2 separate regions of the Homo sapiens genome follow, and region 1 is linked to region 2. Evidence: promoter capture Hi-C in 16 types of primary human blood cells and fetal thymus (Javierre and others, 2016). All regions are on one chromosome and are shown on one strand. Each heading gives the region's core, a stretch centred on a gene start or on the middle of the fragment in contact. The rest is flanking DNA. Distances are from core to core; before and after follow the strand shown. Region 1 overlaps LOC124901866. Region 2 holds the start of PRAG1 (PEAK1 related, kinase-activating pseudokinase 1).

Region 1 (5,908 bases), core at 2,939-5,438, 590 kb after region 2:
TGGGCACTATGGCTCATGCCTGTAATCTCAGTACTTTGGGAGGCCAAGGCGGGTGGATCACAAGGTCAGGAGATCAAGATCGTCCTTGCCAACATGGTGAAATCCCATCTCTACTAAAAATACAAAAATTAGCCATGCGTGGCTGTGCACACCTGTAGTCCCAGCTACTTGGGAGACTGAGGCAGGAGAATTGCTTGAACTCGGGAGGTAGAGGTTGCAGTGAGCCAAGATTATGCCACTGCACTCCGGCCTGGGCGACAGAGCAATACTCCTTCTCAAAAACAAACAAACAAAGTGCCCAGTAAATGACTGGTGTTTCGTCATCATCCTCATTGTCATTTTAGAGAATAAAAACATTGGATTAGAAGTTTATATACAACATATTTGCCTCCATAAATAAGTGCAAATTCTGAAATTCAAAGCAAAAAATTTTTTAAAAATCATTTTATATTTGCTGAGAGCTTTTCCTTTGAACATAGATTGGGGGAGGCAGTTTCATGGATTTCCATGTTCATAACTGGATCTGTCCCCAGTCTTTTTCTGGCATTCCCAGCCTTGAACCGCGTCTTGTTAATCCTCCTCCACAAAAGCCCATACTAGCTTTTATTTATTTTCTCTCAGAATATTCCATGTCTATAATTTCTGTTGATTTATGCTCTATAAATACTAATTCCAGACTTGTGTAGCCAGCACTTTCTGGCCCCAAGCGCTCCACAAAATGGACTCAGATTGTCTTCTTGTATAACGCACAGTCTACCAGTTTGGTGAAAGGTGATAAAGTGATCTGTGGAGCTCAGATGGAAAGAAGCGTCTGGGAGAGCCAGGCTCCTAATCACTTAAATCCTTTCCAAACGTGGGGAGGGGGGTGGTGCGAGGGAGAATGAGAGCAGACAAAGCTGGCTGTCATTGCTATGATTAGGCTTTCGCTCTAAGCCTCCAGAGAGTTGTGAGCTGGGGTAAATGATGTGAAGGATTCATTTCGCCTGGATAGAGATAGGCTCAAGGAGCTGCACCAGTAAAAGTGGGATGAACGGCGTCTTAGACTCCCTTTCCTCTAAGCCCAGCGCAAGCCACAGCCTCGTGAACAGCTCAATGTAATAAGACAAATCCAAGGAAAAAGAAGGAATACGCTTCCTCCTGAGAGCTAGATTGGAGTGTCTCTAATCCCCTCAAACTGTTATCTGTCAGGAATCTTATTTGTGAGCAACAGAATCCAACTCCAATAACTTTGGAAGGAAGAAATTTAGCAGAAGGCTATTCAGGAGCTCCGGCTCGTGCTGAGCAGATGGGAGAAGCAGGCTTAAAGTCAAAGCTTTGGTGGCAGGCAGGAGCAGAAGTCAGTCAGTGAGGACACCAGTGCAGTGGGCATTGGACACAAGACCACAATGCTCACCATGGCTGATGCTGGCACGAGATAGTGGTTGCTGATGCAGGCATCGCTACCTCTGCACTTGGGAACTTGCCAGTACTCCCCCATCTGCCACCAACCACCTATCCGTGGTTTCGCCACCACCCACCTATCCGTGGTTTCTCCACCACCCTGCTTCCTGGGATGCAGCAACCCCCAAACAGATGCAGTTTTGGGCCAGCGTTATGGAAGAGAAAGCAAATCCCCCAAATGTCTGAATCACAAACACAGAGACCTCACCCCCGTGACAGTGGAAACAAATGCCCTGGCCTCTGACCCCTACAGATCCGCGTTCCTGCCCCTAAACGGTGCAGTGAGGGGAGAGCTGGGCTGCAGAACAGGTGGAGAGAAGAACGTGGTGTGTCCCCTAGGGGTCAGTGCTAGGACATATTGTCTCCAGGGTCTCGTGCCTTTCTGTTTGGTTGAGGGCAACATTTCTCAGAAGTATGTGGATACCTGGGATTTTAAGAGGGTATCATGGCAACTCTTTCACTCTCTAGTTTTAGAGGTGATCTTGACAAATGTCTCTCACCTGAGAGCCTTTGAGTATGTACCAACTAACCATATGGAGCAATTGGGGGATCAGATAAAAAGGCTGATGACACGGTCACTCTATTGAGTTAGCACCAGCTGAGCACAACAGCCCACCATGTTGTCTCTGACTACCATGGAGCATGGCAGGCTGCTTGTTGTCACCCCACATCCATTTTCCCCTTCTTCATTAGAAAATGGTGAGCCAGCTAAAAATTGTATTTCCCAGTCTTCTTCTTCTCCTCCTCCTCCTTCTTTTCCTCCCTCCTCCCTCCTCCCTTTCCCCTTCACCTCCCCTCCCCCTTCACCCTCCCCAACCCCTTCTCTTCCCCCTTGTTCTCCTTCTCCCCCTCCTTCTCCTTCTCCTTCTTCTGACAGGGTCTTGCTTTTTCACCCAAGCTAGAGTGCAGTGGTGCAATCATGGCTCACTGAAGCCTCAACCTACTGGCTTAAACGATCCCTCCACATCAGCCTCCCAAGCAGCTGGGACTACAGGCACACACCACCACGCCTGGCTGGTTGTTAGATTTTTTTGCAGATATGTGGTTTTTGCCCGAGCTGGTCTTGAACTCCTGTTCTCAAGTGATCGTCCCACCTCAGGCATCCAAAGTGCTGTGAATATAGGTATGAGCCATCACACCCTGCCTACCCCAGCCTTTTTTACAGCTAGGTGTGGCCATCCAGCTAAGTTTTCATCAGTGAATTGTGAGAGGAAATAATGCACGAAATTTTGATTTCAGCCGGGCTCAGTGGCTCACGCCTATGATCCCAACACTTTGGGAGGCTGAAGCTGGCAGGTGGATCACTTGAGCTCAAGACTTCAAGATCAGTCTGTCCAACATGGTGAAACCCCATCTCTACTACAAATACAAAAATTAGCCAGGCGTGGTGGCACACGCCTGTAATCCCAGCTACTGGGGAGGCTGAGGCAGGAGATTCACTTGAACCCGGGAGGTGGAGGTGGCAGTGAGCCGAGATCACTCTACTGCACTCCAGCCTGGGCAACAAAGTGAGACTCCATCTCAAAAAAAAAAAAAATTCTTTTTTGGTCTTACTTCCTTAAAACACTCCCCAAAACTTGGCCTTTACTTCCCCCCAAATTGTTACAGATTTTCATTTTTTCCCTTTCTTGAATCAGAAAATAGCTATGTTTGCTGCTTGACTTTGATTATGTAGATTAATTCATAGCCCTAGGTCAGTTTTTTTGTTTTGTTTTTTTGTTATTTTTTTTTTTTTTTAGATGGAGTCTCGCTCTTTCACCCAGGCTGGAGTGCAGTGATTTGATCTCAGCTCACCGCAACCTCCACCTCCTGGGTTCAAGAGATTCTCCTGCCTCAGCTTCCCAAGTAGGTGGGATTATAGGCTCGCACCACCACGGCCAGCTAATTTTTGTATTTTTAGTAGAGACAGGGTTTTGCCACATTGGCCAGGATGGCCTCAAACTCCCGACCTCAAGTGATCTGCCTGCCTCAGCCTTCCAAAGTGCTGGGATTACAGGCATGAGCCACCGTGCCCAGCCCAGGAGCTGTTAATCAGGGTTTTATGAATACTCAAGGAATTTGGGGATATAAACCATGTGGGTTAATGAAGTTAAATCAGGGAAAAAAAGTCTTCATTTCAATTTAACTCTAACTGAAATTGTGTTTTTCAATTATGAATACAGGAAAGTAACCACAGTATTAAGAGTACAGGTAACTTTGTGACCAATAGAAAGGTATTTTTATTTCACATTTCAGCTGAAGATATCTCAAAATATTATTTGTGCTCTTCACCAGTTTGAAATTGTGATACGAGACAATTTGACCCTACTAGATCTTTCTATTTAATGTATTAATAAAGAAGCAAATATATTAGTAATTCACACATTTGCTTTATAAGCATTGTGATGAATATATTTCAATATAATTGCTATCTTTTATAATCCTATACATTTTCTTTTATATCTTTGAAAAAATTATTCTGAGGCTAGGCATGGTGGCTCTCACCTGTAATCCAAGCACTATGGGAGGCCGACATGGGAGGATGACTTGAGGCCAGGAGTTTGAGACCAGCCTGGTCAACATAGCAAGACCTTATCTGTATTAAATAATAATAATAATGATAAAAAGAAAAAAATTATTCTGAGATAGTCCATAAGCTTCACCAGACTGTCAAAGGGGACCTTGTCACAAAAAACTTAAGAAGCAACATGGTTTCTTTTTTCTAGTCATTCTGTCTCATGGGATGGCAGAACAACTGGCTCTCAGAATACATGCGGAACAGATCTCACCCTCAATGAAACCACTCACCTACAGACGTTAAATAAGAGAGAAATAAACCTTATGATCTTTAAGCCATGCATTTTATGGTATTTTTGTTATAGAAGCTTAAAAAATACTCCAACCATACATATAAAGTTATTTTATTCTCACTTTCTTGTTTTAAAATTCATATCAACATCATTCGTTAAAGGTAAGAAGCATACAGATGTCAAAATCCAACAACTTGCTGAGGATTATTAAAATGATAATAATTATGCAAATTTATTTCAAGGAGATATTTGCAGTTTGTATGTTGTATTCATCTCAACAAAAGTGTTATTTAGCACAACAAAATACTTCTTGTACTTCAAAATATATTAAGAGAGAAAATATGGTGCCTATTAAATTTAATTTGACTTCTTATTTATCAAAAGTAAACATTAGCACCTGAAATACGTTGTTTGCACAGAAATACCTGTATTTAGAAGCTTGAAATATTTCCTCTGAATTGATAACTTAGAAACAAAACATGGAAATTATAGTAAGTGAATTTCCTATTTAATGTGCTAAAGGCAATCTGTTTATACAGTAGTATGCAATTTTAAATTTTAAACCAGTTTTTAATATATGTTTGATCCTAAGGCTAAATATCATATATATTCTTCTTGAATTAATTTGTTTATAAAGCATGTTTTTGCTACTTAATTAATTAATTAATTATTCTGGATGGACTGTCACTGTTAGCTGGAGTGCAGTGGCGCCATCTCGGCTCACCGCAACTTCCACCTCCCGGGTTCAAGTGATCATGCCTCAGCCTCCTGAGTAGCTGGGATTACAGGCATGTGCCACCATGCTTGGCTAATTTTTGTATTTTTAGTAGAGATGGGGTTTTGCCATGTTGGCCAGGCTGGTATTGAACTCCCGACCTCAAATGATCCACCTGCCTCAGCCTCCCAAAGTGCTGGGATTACAGGCATAAGCCACTGTGCCCAACCTGATTTAAATGAATAGTATGTATCAATTGTTAAGTGGGAAAAAAACTAAATGTTTCTATATATTTTAAATATTACTACACATTATATAAAAGTGAACTCATATGCTAATTGAAAATACACTTTATACTTGAAATTACTTAATATTGTATGCCCTGCAAAGTTGATAGAATTTTTTTTAGTTGTCTTTTTGCATCCCTTGGCTATGCTATAATGCGGCTTTGAGGATCAAATAAGGAGCTTGAGAGCATTGAAAGTACCACCAAGTTGAGAGGGGGAAGACCTCATATGCAGGAGAGGATTAACTTTGCCCATACAGGGGTCTGGCCTTTGCCCTCAGCTCCTGGAAGATAATCTCTAAACCACTGGAATATCCTGCTTGATAAGAATGTTTACCTGAGGACTTTGGAACAAGCTCCATAACCTATGCTAACAATGTAATCGATAATGCAGGCTTTGGGCCACACAGCTCCAGCTCAGCCTCCGGAAGGGCTGGAAACTGACCATGTCGATGTGACAGAACCCCAGTAAAAACTGTGGACATTGAGGCTCAGGTGAGCTTCTCTGGGTGGCAATTCATGCATATCCTCACACATCACTGCTGAGTTAGTTCTCCACTGGGAAAGAACAACTGGAAGCTTTGCACGTGGAGCTCTCCTGGACTCTTCCCCATATGCCTCTTCCCTCAGTTTATTTATTTATTTAGAGACAGAGTTTCACTCTTGTCGCCCAGGCTG
Region 2 (3,701 bases), core at 534-3,033:
TGCCTGGAATTATCTCCTATTTGTTTTAAGTAAAAGATGGTGAGAAACACAAGTGGCACCCACAAAGCCTTGCCTCGCCTTGCCTGGTGCAGCAGTGCCAGCTCTCCACAGCATGGGGAAGGCACTTCGCAGCCCACATTCCTTACTTCTGAGGGGAGGCAGCCCCCAGAATTATGCAAATCCTCCCCATTTCAGTAGGAGGCTGCAGTGTCAGATTAGAAAAAAGAGCTCAGCATTCTTTCTGATCCAAGTCATGAAAAAAATGTCTTTGCCTCTGCAAACTTCTGCACTAGATTTGTGGCTACAGTTTGCAAGACTGAAGCTGTCAGATACACTCCCACCCCATTTCAAAAAAGAATCTGAAGAATCAAGGTGGCCAGATCTTTAAGATTAAATATTTTGGCCCAAAATACCCCCTCAGACTTACATCAGAAGTTGCTTATGCCTTATTCTGAAGTGACAGAATTGCAGAAAACATTCACCTAAAATTTTTTTCTGTATGTTACAGTTAAATTAATGCAACGCCAGTAAAAGGAAAGAAATATGTGTGGAAAGTGTCTGAACTTCAGCACACTCCACTGGCCAGGGCTGACCAGGCAGAAAGGAGAAAGTGACAACTTTACCACCCACTAGCCCCCTGCCTCCCTACTCACGCAGAGGGTAAATTACGATATTCACCCAACTTTTCCTTTTCTTTTTTCTTCCTCCAGTGCTGGAGGAAAGAAAATCTCAGAGGGAGGAATGTGGTTTTGCACCCACTACAGTCGAAACCAACCAGACCTCAGGAGAGAAAAATAACTGCGGAATTCCCTAGGGCTTTCTGTCAAATTTTCTTCTCAGAAAGGGAAGGGGAGAGGAGTTGTTAAGAATAGTTCAGGCCAGTGATCAGGAAAGCCTTCTGAGCCTGACTCCGCACTGAATGCATCGCCAAAACTCCTCGCCCCTAGACCATTGGGCTTTGCTATCGGCTCTGCAAAACCATGTGCAGGGAGAGCTTACCTGAGAGAAACGCACACACCGTGAGCTGGCGCTCTCCGCTGCGAATGCCCGGCCGCCTCCATGCCCAGCAGAGGATTCTATGTTCTAAGTGTGTGTGTCCCCGGATACCAGCAAAGGTTAATAACGTGCTCACAGCATGCGTTTCAGAGGGCTCAGCCAGGGCTCGGGGAAAAGGGCATCATCTCGTTGCCTCTGGAGCCCCGCTGCTGCATACCCTGCACCCCCAAACCATCCCCCCGGGTCCTGGTCCCAGCAGCCAGGCGGCCTTCCGTCTCTCCCCCTTGACAATACTCTAGCGGTGGAAAGCAGTCCTCAAAGCGCTTCAGCCTCCGGCCGCAGACAGAGCAGCAAGACCAGAGAAACCATCCTAACAGTCGGTCCTCCCTCCTGGAACTCGTAGGAAAGTTTCCCCGTTTTAAAGAGCGCGATTCTCGAATGAATCAAAAACACCCTCCAGCTCCTCGGTCCTCCCGGCCGGGCGCCTCCCTGCACCTCGGGCACCACCCGGGGCTCACGCGGCCCCGGCACTGCCCACTTCCCGAGCGGTCGCCTGTCACCCCGGGGGTAGCCCGCTCGGCGATCGCAGCGCCCCTCCAAAGCTCCCCTCTGCGACCACGCTCGCCAGACAAAAAGAGGCCGAATTTGGAGAGCGCGTCGCGGGCTCACCTCTGGGCTGCGCTCCCCCGGCCCCTCCGTCGGTCTCCGAGCCGCCAGCCGCCCGGCCGGAGCATTGTTCGCAGAAGGTCTGCGCGCGGTGCGTGCCCGGCCGCGGGCGGGTGGCTTCTGCCTGGGCCCGGCGGCCGGGTGGCAGCTGTGAGCGCGGCTCCGCCCCCTCCGCCTCCGGTGACGCCGCCCGCCCCAGCTCACGCCGCACCTCCGCAGTCCCTGCCGCCGCCCGGCCCCGCCTGGCCCGCGCGCCCCGCCGCCCGGCTTGCGCCTGCCGCTCCCACCCGGCGGTCTCCTACCCCCAGGGCCCCGACTCCTCCAAAGTCTCCAGGCCCCGGGACTCCCTCTCTTGCCCACCCTCCCGCCCCGGACCGGCAGGCTCCGCCCCCAGCCCCAGACTTGGCGCGGGCTGACCCCCGAGCCCAGCACCCGTTTGCACCCCCTCCTCGGTGGGGACCCTGCACAGCTCTGGAGGGGCGAGCTCTGGCGTTGCAATCCTCCTTTTGCCATCATGCGTGTATAGGTGCCCGGCATCACTTCATCCAGCCGGCCCTGCGGGACCCTGGGAAGAGAGGGAGAAGGAAGGGGAAACGAGGAAGTGTGGGGTCGGGAGTGGAATACAGGTCAGGGTCCGAGGCGGGCTCTGAAAGCCACGTGAGCACAGCGAGCCTCAGCTCTCCCTACCTCTGGGAAGAGGGTGGCGCCGGAGGGAGCAGGGCTGGAAGTCCCGGTGGCGGATTCCAGGTTCCGCTCAGTCCCTGGACTGCAGGATTCTGGCAAATTGCTTAACCTCTTTGAACTTTAGTTTTCTGGATGTAGAATGCAAGCGTTGCACTGCAGGGACCTGGCCTTCTACCATGCTGGGACATCCAAGTCTTCCGCAGGCCAGTAATACACCTGTGTTTACACCGTTTCCAGTGAGTCATTCACTGAGATAGAACGAGTTCGAGATAGTCCTCGGGCTAAAAAAATCTTTTCACTGGGAGTATAATAGCTTAAGACCCAGTCAGTCCTGTAGCTTGACCTGGGTGTTTACTCGGGGAGCCAGGGCTATGGTCACCTCCCAGGGCCATGCCGGGTGGGAAGAATTCAGTGAAATGGAATAGGAAGAGGACCCCCCTCCCCCACAAAACAATACCTGCGGCTTCTCTCGCCCTCTATCCCCTCCCCAGGAAGGCAGTTTATTTTGACTCCAGTGAAGGTCCTCTGCCAGTCAGCCTGCGAGCCCCCACCCACTGAGAGGAGGAAGATGGGCCCCCACCCCCACCCCCAGATCCCTGGCTCTCCTCTTTGCTGCTGTGGGTGTGGACAGAGAGGGAAGATGTGTATTTGAGGTTTGGCTTCTGTGTGAGGAAAGGGAAAAAAGGATCCAGGGAATTCTTCCTCATGTTCCAGTGACACCCATGCCTCCTAAGAGGACAGAATCTGGGGGAAGCTGTAGAGGGATGGGAGTGCAATGGACATTCCTTAAGGACCTACCCAGCGCTAAGCAATCCTATGAGGAGAGCATCATTATCCCCATTCTACAGATAAGAAAACTGAGGCTCGGGGGCCTCACAATTTGCTGGGGTTCCTCAGCTGAAAAGTGGTAGTACTAAGATTGGAACCAAAGGCTGTCTGGCTTCGCTGGTAGGCAAGTCTACTCTGCCACTCTGCCCTTGCCAAGTGCAGGTAGTCCAGCCCTATTTTTCTCTCTCCCCTAAGTGGAGAGAAATCATTTGAACAAATACTGGCCGTGCGCGGTGGCTCACACCTGTAATCCCAGCATTTTGGGAGGCCGAGGCTGGCAGATCACCTGAGGCCAGGAGTTCAAGAACAGCCTGGGCAATGTGGTATAACCTCATCTCTACTAAAAATACAAAAATTAGTCGAGTGTGGTGGTGGGCGCCTGTAATCCCGGCTACTCAGGAGGCTGAGGCAGGAGACTCACATGAGCCAGGGAGGTGGAGGTTGCAGTGAGCTGAGATCGCACCACTACACTCCAGCTTGGGTATCAGAGCAAGACCCTGTCTCAAAAAAAAAAAAAAAAAAAAAAG

The links. Contacts are between HindIII fragments. The CHiCAGO score rates a contact against its expected background, and 5 or more counts as called.
Region 1: a fragment that was not itself captured here is called in contact with the fragment with the promoter of PRAG1 in region 2 in 8 of 17 cell types (naive B cells, M0 macrophages, M1 macrophages and 5 more); the score reaches 6.6 in naive B cells.

The regions. Positions count from the first base shown.
Region 1 is chr8:8,972,502-8,978,409 of GRCh38, forward strand. The region is part of intron 2 of LOC124901866; the gene reads left to right. Among named protein-coding and RNA genes, the nearest start is that of ERI1, 27 kb to the right of the region's middle. RefSeq lists an enhancer at 5,398-5,692. The HindIII fragment of the contact is 228 bases long and covers 4,075-4,302 here.
Region 2 is chr8:8,384,656-8,388,356 of GRCh38, forward strand. It overlaps PRAG1 (PEAK1 related, kinase-activating pseudokinase 1), which reads right to left and starts at 1,784. Exons shown (of 6, transcript NM_001080826.3): 1 at 1,666-1,784. RefSeq lists a silencer at 1,487-2,166. The HindIII fragment of the contact is 9,968 bases long and covers 1-3,701 here.